Regions from separate parts of the Homo sapiens genome. Here region 1 is linked to region 2. Evidence: promoter capture Hi-C in human tissues and cell types (Jung and others, 2019). All regions are on one chromosome and are shown on one strand. Each heading gives the region's core, a stretch centred on a gene start or on the middle of the fragment in contact. The rest is flanking DNA. Distances are from core to core; before and after follow the strand shown.

What was found. The method cuts DNA at HindIII sites, captures the fragments that hold promoters and counts their contacts. A contact is called where the count stands out against the background at its distance.
Region 1: a fragment that was not itself captured here is called in contact with the fragment with the promoter of C1QB in region 2 in 1 of the 25 tissues and cell types used here (ovary).

The regions. Positions count from the first base shown.
Region 1 is chr1:22,078,971-22,086,070 of GRCh38, forward strand. It overlaps CDC42 (cell division cycle 42), which reads left to right. Exons shown (of 6, transcript NM_001791.4): 3 at 2,752-2,824. Among named protein-coding and RNA genes, the nearest start is that of CDC42, 30 kb to the left of the region's middle. The HindIII fragment of the contact is 5,128 bases long and covers 2,954-7,100 here.
Region 2 is chr1:22,649,077-22,655,983 of GRCh38, forward strand. C1QB (complement C1q B chain) reads left to right here and starts at 4,160. Exons shown (of 3, transcript NM_001378156.1): 1 at 4,160-4,227. The HindIII fragment of the contact is 7,433 bases long and covers 1-5,722 here.

The sequences.
Region 1 (7,100 bases), core at 4,268-6,767, 570 kb before region 2:
TTGAGAGAAAGTAGTATGTGTCTCCACTTTTCTTGTGGAGCTGTTCGCTTAGCAGTAATGGAGCTCCAAACTGGTTCTTAGGGGCAGAGAAGAGAAGACCTGTTATGTTTCGAGAACACCAACAGAGTCCTTTGGGGGTCACTCCCACAACTGTTCTTTTCTTTTTTTCTTTTTTTTTTTTTTTTTGAGATGGAGTCTCTATCGTCCATTCTATCTGGAGTGCAGTAGCGCGATCTCGGCTTGCTGCACCCTCCGCCTCCCGGGTTCAAGCAGTTCTCCTGCCTCAGCCTCCTGAGTAGCTGGGATTACAGGCGCCCGCCACCACGCCTTTCTAATTTTTGTATTTTTAGTAGAAACGGGGTTTTACCATGTTGGCCAGGCTGGTCTTGAACTCCTGACCTCAAATGATCCACCTGCCTCAGCCTCCCAAAGTGCTGGGATTACAGGCGTGAGCCACCATGCCTGGCCCCATAACTGTTTTTTAAATCAACTCTTTGGAATGGTAGAAGGAAGATGGGAATAACAAAAATATTGAAGTGAGAGAGAGACAAGAGTTAGAGTAACACTCATTTGTGAAAGGTAGTGAGACCCTGTCTCAAAAATAAGGAAAGTTTTTTTTTTGAAGGGGGGAGAATTTGAAGGTATTATTAAACACTAAAATCATATTGATATTTTGAATTGGCTCATTTGGAGACAAGATAAATGGAAGACGTTTTGAGGTTCAGTGGACTTACAGGGGACATTTAGAGGTACATGAATCTTGTTTCAGAGTGAGGACAGCTATCAGAATTTTTCTGTTTCAGTCTCCATTGAAGTTATTTACTTGTAAACATAATTTCTGAGTCTTTTATGACTTTGATCTTCTGGTGTTATATTTTAAGTGGGCTTGTGGGTGTTTTATATGTATGTTTGTGTTGTACATCTCTGGAAAAGTGATAGAGTGGAAGGAAGAGTAGTAGTAGAATAAAATTTTAAATGAACCGATTTAGGTAAATGAATGGACCATGAGGCACAAGTAATGTTCTCATGGTACCTGTTGAAGTTAATATGGAAATGGATTTGGTGTAGAATGCATTTAAGTTCCCATCTATGAGTTGGGGCTTGCCATTTCTAGAGTAATAGAAATTCAGAGCTGGATGGGACAATATATATTGTCTTACCCATCTCTTAATGGATGAGGGTACTCAGGCCCAATTTAGGGATGAGACTTAGAAGTCTAAGTTTAATTACTTAGCGTAATTACACTAGCATAAGTAGACTTTGGAATGGAAGCCAGCTTTTCTGATTCTTAGTCTAGTTTTGGATATGAACAATCTAGTAAAGGAGGGTTGTTTTTGAGTCTCTTAAGTGTGATTTAAGAAAATAATCTGTTTGGTTTGAGAGCTTAACCACATTCATTCAATTTCTTTGTTCCTGTTTTTAAGAACCGACTTTCCTTTAACTGTCATCTCCCTCATGCCCTTGCTTCTCTTCTTTACATTTAAATAAGCTCTGGAACAATCTGTTAAAACATAAGTCAGAAAATCAGAGTAGGTACCTAAAAGTTAAGTAGGGCTGGTCTTAAAATGTGGCATTCTTCTCCTAGTTGGAAAGCTTTGCTTTTCTTTTTATAGATATCATTTAATTTTAAAATTTTTACTGTAAATTGACAGATTATAGTTGTATATGAAAGCATTGCTTTTCAATTGTAAATTAATTCTAAAGACTCCAGAATTTGTGTTGGGTCTTTTCCCATTTAGCATTGTTAAACCTCCCATTTTCACAAATAACTTCGTACAACCGATATTAGCATATGCTTTACTGAATTTGATAAGGGTTTTATGGTCTATTTACATATTAAGCATCTTGTTAAAGAAGATGTCTTAGATCATGCAGTTTGTGCCCAATAACATGAATTTTACTCATAAAATTCCCAGCTGGCTGGGTGCAGTGGCTCACACCTGTAATTCCAGGACTTTGGGAGGCCGAGGCAGGTGGATCATGAGGTCAGGAGTTTGAGACCAGCCTGGCCAACATAGTGAAACTCTGTCTCTACTAAAAATACAAAAATTAGCTGGGTGTGGTGGCATGCACCTGTAGTCCCAGCTACTCAGGAGGCTGAGGTGGGAGAATCGCTTGATCCCAGGAGGCAGAGGTTGCAGTGAGCCGAGACCATGCCATTGCACTCCAGCCTGGATGACGCAGTGAGACTCTGTCTCAAAAAAAAACTTCCCAGCAAATAATCTGCCAGCTTTTTCTTGGACACTTTGAGTACTTTGAGGGAACCGTTATTTCTCTCAAATGGGCTTGTTTATAACAAGGCTCATCTTTTCTAGGACTCTGAAAGGAAGAAAGGTCATGGATCTAGGATATTTTATTTCTAGATGAAAAGGAAATGGTCTATGAAGAAGTAGTTTCTTAGGAATCAGATTGAATGTTGAGGTAGACCACTGTCTGAAAAGTTTCAAACTTGAACAGGTTCATTTTGTGTAGCTAGAGGACTCTGCTCCTGTGACACCTCTAAACCTTCTCTGGCTCTTTATCCAGGCTGCTGGGGTAGAGCAGAAATCTCAGAACACATCCTTTGTCTTTTTCCAGGAATCATTTAGCTCATGCAAGGACTGGTTGGCAAGATTGGTTATATAAGGATGATGGATGGACTAGGGGACGATTAAGTCTTAGCAAGGAAACACTGCCTTAGCTTAAGAGTTGTCCTGTCCCATTTTAACTCTCTCCTTGCACACTAACAGTGTTGTATTTTTTTGTTTTTAGGTTTTTGACAACTATGCAGTCACAGTTATGATTGGTGGAGAACCATATACTCTTGGACTTTTTGATACTGCAGGTGAAAACTTAATGTCTTTTATACTGTTTTGATCTTTAACAGTTGCTAGTTGTCTGTCTCTTGTGGACATTTTGAGAAACTAGCACATGAGCAAAGTACTTGCCTTTTGTTATTAGTTAGCAGGATTGAATATAATGATTGTCGATGCTTGACCAAGGAGCAGTCCCAGACCTGGGTCGGCAAATAGGAGTTTGGAGTACCCTGGGTGAACAGTGTAGTAGATGAAGTAGAGTGAGACTAGAGTGCATCATACAAGCTCCAAATTGAACTAAAATCCTGATGCGTGCACCTTGCAGAGAACTGGGGACTGCATTAGTGGTTGGGGAGGGACTAAGGGAATGAATTCATAGGAATCATGCCCACTGATTCTCTCCCTTCACCCCTACCTGCTCCTTTTTAAAGCCTAGAGTTTCCTAAATATGCCTAAGGTTATAAGGTCATAAGCCATTTACAGTATTTATTATTATTACTCTCTTGATATTTGAAGGCATATTCAATTTATGTGTCTAATAACATGTTTAGTTTCTTACGATAGATAGCTTATTTTAAACTGTATCTGAAAATATTTTGAGAGTGAACTATTATCTGCTCACAGTATTGACATTTGTCAGCTATCCAAATTGTAAGAACAAATTACTTTCTTCCTTAAATGTACCTAATTCCTCAGTGCTATTTCTTGTTTTCAAGAGTGGCTGCACATCTTAATTTCTGACTTTTCTCTATGTGCCGTCTTATTATCAGCTCAGTTAGCCAGAGGAAAATCTCAGAAAGATATCCTTTAGAGTATCTTTAGAATGTAGGAATTCTAAACTTTGTGCTTTGAGTTACTGTTACTGTTTGCAAGTTAACATGTTGCTTCCATGGAATGTGGTGTTACACTGTGTACCACGAGGAACTATTTGGATTTAATTGAGAACGTGAAATGGAGAGACAGTAAAGATTAGAGAAATTTTTAATACATTAAAATCATAAAAGTAATGGTATATTAAATTTGGAATATAGAGAAAACAATGACCCATAATGTCATGATAAATGAGGGGTTTTCTTCTGTGTTCATTTGTGTCCAAAGGCACAGAGAAAATTTTTATTTTTTTTTTTTGTTGAGATGGAGTTTTGCTGTTGTTGCCCAGGCTGGAGTGCAATGGTGCAATCTCGGCTCACCGCAACCTCCGCCTCCCAGGTTCAAGCGATTCTTCTGCCTCAGCCTTCTGAGTAGCTGGGATTACAGGCATGCGCCACCATACCCGGCTAATTTTTTTGTATTTTAGTAGAGGTAGGGTTTCTCCATGTTGGTCAGGCTGGTCTCGAACTTCTGACCTCAGGTGATCCGCCCGCCTTGGCCTCCCAAAGTGCTGGGATTACAGGTGTGAACCACTGCGCCTGGCGAGAAAAGATAATTTATGGCTACTTGTGGTTGAAAATTAGTATTTTCAGATTTCAAAGTTTATTATTTATAAGCCTTTACATTTTCTGGCGAGTACTTTTGAAAGCTTTTTTGATGCGTAGTGCAATAAAAATCATTTTAAGGCCAGGCGCGGTGGCTCACGCCTGTAATTGCAGCACTTTGGGAGGCTGAGACAGGCAGTTCACCTGAGGTCAGGAGTTTGAGACCAGCCTGGCCAGTATGGTGAAACCCCATCTCTACTAAAAATACAAAAATTAGCCCAGTGTAGTGGTGTATGCCTGTTAAGTCCCAGCTACTTGGGAGGCTGAGACAGGAAAATTGCTTGAACCCAGGGGGCGGAGGTTGCAGTGAGCCGAGATTCTGCCACTGCCCTCCAGCCTGGCTGACAGAGTGAGACTCCGTCTTTAAAAAAAAAAAAATCGTTTTAAGTGTTCAGTGTGATGCATTTTGCTGACCCTCCACCATAATAAAATGTGTAACATTTTTATCACCCCTCAAATTTTCTGTGGTGAGTTCTTTTACCACTGAATGGTGTTGGCACCCTTATCAAAAATTATTTGACCATATATGTGAGTGTTTATTTCTGGGTTCCCTTTGCAGTCAGCCCTGTCCCTTGACCTGGTTCCAGGCAACCACTGATCTGCTTTCTTTGTTTCTACTGTTTTGCTTTTCTAGGGTTTCATATAAATGGAACCATACAATATGTAGTCTTTTGTGTGACTATTTTTACATAGCATAATGTTTGTGAGAGTTGTCCATGTTGTGTGTATTGGTAGTTGTTTCTTTTGATTGCCGAGTGTTATTCTGTTCTATGAATATATCACAGTTTTGTTTATCCATTAACAAGTTGATGGATGTTTGGGTTCCAGTTTTAATACTGGTGCTATGAATTGCTTCCACGTTTTAGCTATTTTGAATAATGTTGCTATCAACATGGGTATACAGATACCTTGTTGACACCCTGCTTTCAGTTCTTTTGGGGTATATACCCAGAAGTGGAATTGTTGGATCATGTTTTTAATTTTTTTGAGGAACCTCCGTATTGTTTTCCACAGTGGCTGTCCCATTTTATATTCCTACCAACAGTACGTGGGGTTTGATATAGTCACATTCTTCTGTTCGACACTTATTTCCTGTTTTTTTTTTTTTTTTTTTTTTTTTAATTGTAGCCATCCTAATTAGTGTGAGGTGGTATCTAATTGTGGTTTTGATTTGTATTTCCTTAATGATTAGTGATGTTGAGCATCTTATGGCCATTTATATATCTTTGGAGAAAGGTCTGTTTAATCAAGTTCTTTGCCCATTTTTGAATTGGGATTTTTTTTTTGGGGTAAGTTTTAGGAGTTCTTTGTAGATTCCGGGTATTAATCTCTTATCACATACACGATTTGCATATATTTTTTCCTATTTTGTGGGTTGCGTTTTTATTCTGTTGATACTATTTTCTGATGTATAAAATTTTCACAGCTTCATGAAGTTTGTCTATTTTTTGGTGGTTTGGTGTGATATCCAAACAAATTATTGCCAAGTCCACCTGAATCTTTTGCCCTATGTTTTCTGGGAGTTTTAAAGTTTTAGGTCTAACATTTAGACCTTTTATCCATTTTGAGTTAATTTTAGTATATAGTATTAGGTAAGGTTTCATCTTTGTCTTTTGCTTGTGAATATGTCATTTTCTCAGCACCATTTATTGAAGAGTCCTTTTACCACTGAATGGTCTTGGCACCCTTATCAAAAATTATTTGAGCTAGGCTAGGCACGGTGGCTCACACCTGTAATCTTAGCACTTTGGGAGGCTGAGGTGGGCAGATCACCTGAGGTCAGAAGTTTAAGACCAGCCTGGCCAACATGGTGAAACCCTGTGTCTACTAAAAATACAAAAATTAGCCTGGTGCGGTGGTGTGTGCCTATAGTCCCAGCTACTCAGAAGGTGGAGGCAGGAGAGTCTCTTGAACTGGGGAGGTGGAGGTTGCAGTGAGCCGAGATTGTGCCACTGCACTCCAGCCTGGGTGATAGAGTGAGACTCTGTCTAAAAAAAAAAAAAAAAAAGAAAAATCATTTGCCCACATATGTAAGGGTTTATTTCTGGGTTCTCTAGTCTATTCCATTGTCTTATATATCTCCCTATGCCAATACCGCACTGTTTTGATTATTGTAGCCTTGTAGTAAGTTTTGAAATCAGGAAATGGGAGTGCTTCAGCTTTATTCTTTTTCAAGATTATTTTGTCTATTGTCCCTTGTTTCAAGATTACTATCCCTTGTTGGGATTTTGATAGGGATTGCATTGAGTCTGTAGGTTGCTTTGGATAATGTTGACATGTCAACAATATTAAGTCTTCCAGTTCATGAATGTGGGATGTGTTTCCATTTATTTATGTCTTCTTTAATTTCTTTCAGCAGTTTTGAATTTTTTTGTTATCCAAGTCTTTTGCCTCTGATTAAGTTAATTCTAAGTATTTTTATTATTTTGAGTATCGATTAATTCTTGCTAAATTTGTTTTCTAGGCTTTATCAGTTTCAGATACCGGTCTTATATACACGCATTAACTAAATATGTGAACCTCTGTTTGTAGTCATGATGGGCAGTGGATTTTGTCATCTGGGTTTCAGTGAGGTTTTTCTTTCCTTAGATGATTTCACTGTGATTGTTTCTTTACCATATCTGAGATGGAGTCTCACTCTGTCACCCAGACTGGAGTACAGTGATGCCATCTCGGCTCACTGCAACCTCCGCCTTCTGGGTTCACGTGATTCTTCTGCCTCAGCCTTCCAAGTAGCTGGGATTACAGATGTGCACCACCACACCCGGCTAATTTTTATATTTTTAGTAGAGATGAGGCTTCATCATGTTGGCCAGGCTGGTCTTGAACT
Region 2 (6,907 bases), core at 2,910-5,409:
CAGCACCCAGTCAGACTCGAGGCTCACTCTAGCCTGGGAGAACCTGGCCTGTCCTGGCTGTGATCACAGCTTGGTTCCACAAAGCCCCACGGAGTCATGGAAGCACCAGCCATCTGAGGTGTGGGCTGTTAAGAGCAGTGGCTCAAGCTGAGTTCTACAACCACCTCCATTCACTTTGGCTCCTCTGTTTGGGAAAGGGGCTGTGTCACACCTCCCTGCCTTTGCCCATGCAGTCCCTCCCACTCATGCAAATCATCCATCCACCTGGATGATATTCATTCACTCAACTGTCAGGAGTCAACACAAACATCACCTCCTCCATGAAGCCTTCTCCGATTTACCCCTTGGGTCCCCACAGTGCCCTCCACAAATTTGGGCACAAATTCATGACTCCTTAGAGCCCAGGTTCCCAAATCAGATGGTGAATAAAATTAACCTAAAGACTTATTTAAAACAAAATAAAACAAACAAAACCAGATTTCTCAACTCCAGGCTGCTTTATAAAGGTCTGGAGAAGCCCAGGCTGTAAATGAGTTGGCGGTTTGCAGGGGAATCTGATGCACACAGCCCACCAACTAGCTTTTGTGCACTTAGTCACTTACAGGTCTGCCTCCCCTTTAGACTGTAAGAATCGTGGGGGCAGGGCCCCTTCCATACATACCTGGCACATAACAGGGACATGAAAAGTGTGTAAGATGGGAAGGAGGGAGAGAAAGACACACACATGCACACACACATGCACACGCACATATATGCACATACACACATATACACATGCATGTAAAGACATGTACATACACACATATGCATACATACACACATATGTATACATACACACATATATGCATATACACACATATGTACACATATACACATACATATATAGGCACATGCACAGACACACACATATGCATACACATACACATATTTATACACATATATACACAGACACATGCAAAGACATCCACACATATACACATACAAAAATATACCTATATACACAGATATACACACGCACACATGTATACACATACACACAGACATACACATATATACACATACACACACATATACACTCATATAGTATCCACACAACACTTAGATATATGCATACACACAGAAACACACATATACGCATATACATGCACATACCCACACGCATATGCATGCACACACATTGACACCCACACATAGACATCCACACATCCACATACATTCACAGACACACACATAGACACACATACACACATAGACACTCATGCACATGTACACACAGATATACACACAGACGCATACACACATACATACACATACACACATACACATGCACACACATACACATACAGAAATACACAGTGGGAGAGCAGGAGGCAGGGGCGGAAGAACCTGGACGGTTCACTGAGTCCAGTGCCCCCGGCGGGGACAGCGTGAAGGCCACGGCCACAGCATCCACTGCTCTCCTCCACCAACCCCTTAGCTGTCGGCCGGGCGAAGCTGTGGGTGATATGTCTTTCTTCTCATTTCTCTTTTGTTTAAAAAATCAATACACCATTTATGTAGGTCACAGTGTCATATCAGAAACCTGTACTTTGGAAATGACAATTTTGTGCCATTTTTATTTTCCATAATTGTTTCCTTGTTGTTCTCTCTTCATCAGGGGGGCAAGCCTTTGAAAATGCCAACGTGTCTGCCTTGCTGAGGGGAGGCGGGGGAGAGTTTTTCAGTGGGGCAGGCAAGGAGGGGTGGACGTGGGGCAGGAGCCAGGACAAGACACCCCAAGCTGCAAGGAACCCCTTTCCAACCACAGGAAGGTGAGGGGGTGTAGGTTTCTTTTTCCACTCTTTGCAGGGATCAGGGATTTTCCACTCTCAATCAGGGATGTGAGTCCAAAATTTTGTAGGTACAGAGACCAGCTGGCTCCCATTAGCGGTCAAGGCCCAGGGACCCCTCAGCTCCTGATCCCCAAGTCCAGGCCTCCTCCTAATCCAGGCATGGCTTCTTTGCTCCTGGGTTCCAAGAATTCCATCTTCTCTTCATATAAGTAATACCGTTCCCATGTTTGCAGTGGGTGCCCACCAAGGGCTGGGCACTCACCTGGCCCTGGACATGGCAGGGGGACCTCGCTGGCCCCCAAAACAGCCCCAGGAGATAGGCGTTCATGCTTCCCATTTCTACACGAGGAAACTGAGGCCAGTAAACATTCCCGTGGCCACATAGTTAGCAAGACGAAGAGCTGGGATTCAAACTGCCAAAGTCCGTGCTCCTAACCCACCTCTGCTGCTTCCTGTTCTTAGCCTCACTGCTTCTACCCCAAATTGACATCCATCTTTTCCCATTGCCCTTAGCCACCTAAGAATTAGAGGCCCAGAGGCTGGGCATGGTGGCTCACGCCTGTAATCCCAGCACTTTGGGAGGCCGAGGCAGGCAGATCAACTTGAGGTCAGGAGTTTGAGACCGGCCTGGCCAACATGGTGAAACCCTGTATCTACTAAAAAAAAATACAAAAATTAGCTGGGCTTGGTGGCATGCACCTGTAGTCCCAGCTACCTGGGAGGCTGAGGCAGGAGAATCGCTTGAACTTGGGAGGAAGAGGTTCTAGTGAGCTGAGGTCGCACCACTGCACTCCAGCCTGAGCAACAGACTGAGACTCCATCTCAAGAAAAAAAAAAAAAAAAAGAACTAGAGGCCCAGAGCCACTCGGCTTTGGGAATGCTCAGAAGCCCTCAACTTGCAACCTACTAACTCGTTTCTCCCTTTGTGGAATCCAGTGTTTCTTCTCTTCACCCTAGCCTGGGTCCCTTCGGGACTATAGTTGACTGAGCTCAGAGACCTTTTGGTTTTATCAAACTTATCTTTCCCTCCTGTTCACCCATTGCAGTTAACACTTAATTTCCACCAAGCTGCATCCACAAGCCCAGTGAATTTCCATCTCCAAGCACAGATGTCAAGAGGGCCTCCAGCTCCTGGTGCTTGCTAGTCATCATGTCGTCTGAGACGCAGCCACAGGGAGAGACTGATATCCTAGTGCCAGGGATGCCGGCTTCCAGGTCTGCATCTGCCACCTCCATGAGGCATCGGCCCCAGCAGTCACGTCTTTCTGTGACATTTATCACAGAAGCAATGAAGCCTCATGTCATTCCGTGTTTAACACCAGTCTCCCCCCGTAGAAGGGAGGCCCCATGGGGGCAGGGACCATGGCTGATTTGCTAAGAGCTCTCTCTTCAGTGCACATGGAAGCAAACACTAAATATTTGTTAAATGGTGGGTCTCCCCTCTGGGCCTCAGTTTCCTCGTATATAAAATGAGGAGGATGGGCCGAGTAACCTCAGCCCCTCTCCGGCCCTAACTTGGCGTGATTCCAGGATCGAGAAGAAGCAACAGGCCCCTGCCTGGGCCTATTATTGTCATCAGCGTCCAGCCCTGCTGGAAGCAGAGGGAGGGGTATCAATAAATAATGAACACATTTAAAATTCATTATGAGATTATTTTCTGAGAACAGGGAAAGAGCAGGGGCACAGAATGGGAAGGAAGCAGAAGAGATGAGCCCAGAAAGGGGAAGCCTGGGACATGAAGTGATATTAACAATGAACACGTGCACAGCCCTTTACAGTTTACCCCCAGACACTTCCTCCCCCATCATTTCCTCCATTATCCTCCCAGTGGCCTGTGAGATCTGTATCTGTAGAGCAGGTACAATTATGGTCCCATCCTATAGCAGAGAAAATTGGGGCTCCCTTGACTGACAACACATCAACTGGCAAGTGGCAGAGGCGGGATTGGAATCAAAGGCTCTGACTGTAAGCCAGCACTCAGGCAGCGGGCCCGCCACATGATGCTCACTGAGGAACACCCCTGCCCAGTGTAGAAGAAGATCACGAGGTCAGAGAGCCTGGGAGGGTGAGCTGTGGATGTTCCCCCAGGACAGCGTGTTCTCCCCACAGCTGCTGAGTTGGCAGAACCAAACTTGCCACCCACCCGTCTCATTTACAGTAAATCCAGTGGGTTGCAGAAATAGGACCTGAAACTGCCTGAGGGCAGCAGGGTGGGGGGACAGTGAGGGGACGGGAAAGGGGCCAGCCTGCTGGTCCATGGGAGGGGACCGTCAGGGGAAAGCCCTTCCCGCCTCTGGGGAAGGGAACTTCCGCTTCGGACCGAGGGCAGTAGGCTCTCGGCTCCTGGTCCCACTGCTGCTCAGCCCAGTGGCCTCACAGGACACCAGCTTCCCAGGTGAGGACGGGGCTTGGCGCCTGGGGGAGGCTGGCAGGGCCAATATGGCAGAAAGTGGTGATTCCGTAAGTGTGAGCTTTGCGTCACCTGCCTCGGAGCCAGTTAGGCTGTTTAACAGTGCAGGTAGCTGGGCCCAATCCCAGACCTATGGGACCCAGATCTCTGGGGTGAGTTGGGGAGTCTGCTGCTACCCAGGGCCTAGCGGATGGGCAGGCCACCTAAAGCGGGAGCCTGGCACATAGGAGCTTTGGCATCGCAGAGACTTGAGCTGAGTCTGGCTCTGCACCTTATGTATTGGTTATCTTGGGCAAGTCACCTAACCTCTCTCAGCCCGGCCCCCCTACAGAGAACAGAATCTTTCAGCACTGCTGTGCCTTACAGGAGATCAAGCTTGCAAAAGCTTAGTGCATGCCCTGGCTCAAAATTTATCAGTAAACCAGAGGCAGGAGTGGGATTATAAGCCAGTCGCTCCTGCCCGGCCCAGCATTTCCCCAACACCTTGCTTATTTCCTCATACTCGCTGAGAAAGCTCAGCTTGACTCTTCCAAAGAAATAAGGGGATGTGCAGGTAGAGTTACGATGAGTTCTCAGCTAGTACTGAGTGAGCGCAATGTTTGTGCAGCTGGGGAGTGGGATGTGGCACTGCACGGGGCAGGGGGGACCTTATTTCTTCTAAGCGCCTTCTCCTGTCATCCTTCTGGCAGCCCTGTCAGGTTGAAATCAGCATTGCCAAGAGGCTCAGAGAGGTTAAGGCACTTGCCTGAGGTTATGCAGCCGGTAGCAGATGGGGCTTTAAAGTCAAGTGGGCCTGACTCCATGTTGCGGAAAGGGACTGCTGGACCGAAGGAGATGGAAAGGTCAGAGCCTGGGGGGAGGACAGGAGAAACCGCGCTGGCAATGATGATGGGCTGGCACAGGCAGGAGGCAGTTAAACCAGATGAGTTGTAAGCCCTAACCCAAGGCTGAAACTCGGTGGCTTTTGAAATGGGCTAGAACCAGCACTTTCCCACTCCCCCTGCCCCTGGCTTCCCCAGGAAGCCCAAGTCCTGTCAGTACCCTGCTCCCCACCCTCTCTCCCCACCAACTGGTCACAGCTCTCCACCCCTTGCTGCCTCCAACTGACAGAGCCCCTCCCTCTAAACACAGTCTTTCAAAGGGATTGTCTTTTTTTACTTCTCCAACCATCTTCCCTTCTGTTCAACCACTCAGGAATTCTTGGATGACAGTGATAATAATAAAATAGCTAATATTCATTAAGAATTTCCAACATGCCAGGCTCTGTTGGAAGCTGTAACTCATGTCCTCGCACATACCCTATGAGGGAGAGAGTAGCATTATCCCCACTTTATAGGAGGGTAAACTGTGGCCAGAGAGAAGGAGTGATTTCCCAAGTCCCTTAGCTAAGAAGCAGTAGAGACCTTATGTGAACGCTGAGTGTTGCTTTCCTTGTGACACTACAGGCTCCCGCCACCAGGTGAATGTGTGCTGCCTAACAAGAGCAGCAATCATCGTGGTGGTAAAAAGCCACTTTCACCGAACACTGACCATGTGCCTACCACTACCCTTGGTGTGTCCCATGCATTAGTCCTTTTATCAGGCTGTCTGGCTTCAAAGTTTATGTTTTTACCACCAGGTACAGTGGCCTCTTAACATAACATTGAGTTTTAAGATCCAGTGGATGTGGGTTTGACTCCCAGCCACACAGGAGCTGTGTGACTTTTATCAAGGTGCTTGCCCTCTCTGATCCCGTTGCCTCATCTGTAAAATAAGAAAGCAAGAGTGCATTCTCAGGGGCTGAATATCAAATTACAGGGGATAATGGCATGCAAGCCATCTGGCTCAGAGCCTGGCCTATACGTACCCAACTTATTAAAGTTGTTAAATTGCCATTTTGTAAAACCTTTAGCAAGAGCAAGAGTGAGAGCTGATGCTTATTCATGGATAAGCAGGACCATGCCCCTGAGCCACCCTGTCTTCAGAGCATAGAGCCTGACAGAACCTAAAGCTGTCACCAGCATTCCCTGGCCACACTCATCTTTACAGCTTCCTTTCCTTGGTGCACAGTGTCTGGCATAACTCAGGGCTTTCAGCAAGAAATTGATCAGGACTAGGCTGAGGGGCTGAGGCTGGTTTGCAGAGCATAGGAGCCAAATATCAGTAGGCCTTGTCTGGTCCCAGGGAGCCCTCCACATGCCAGACTCTGGGGTTGGGACAGCCAGCATGTGGCAGAGAGGGTAGGAGTTTGGCCACAACCCTGCTGTTAGAATAGTTTGCTGGGTGATTTTTGGGTAGGTTGCTTTCTAAGTTCCGATCCTCAGTTTCCTCATCTGCAAGATGGGAAATTAATCACAACCCACTTCCCCAGGGTGTTGAGAGGATCAGAGAACAGCAGCAATAGCAGTAGCAGCCACAAGTCCCAATGAGAGCTTGGGGCTCAAGGCTTTATGACTCTTTCCCATCCATGGTCTCACCTGGGTCCCTGTGGCCACTCTGGGAAGTAGGCAGAGACCACTCTGCTCCCCCATTTTAAGAGAGGATACAGTTCAGCCTCTGAGGAAAGGTTTCCTGGAGGAAGAAGGCTTTGACCCAAGCTTCGAATGAAGAAAAAACATTTGGATCTGGGCAAAGGTGGAATGGGCTGCCTCGAGAGGTAATGAGCTGCCCATCACTGAAACGGTGC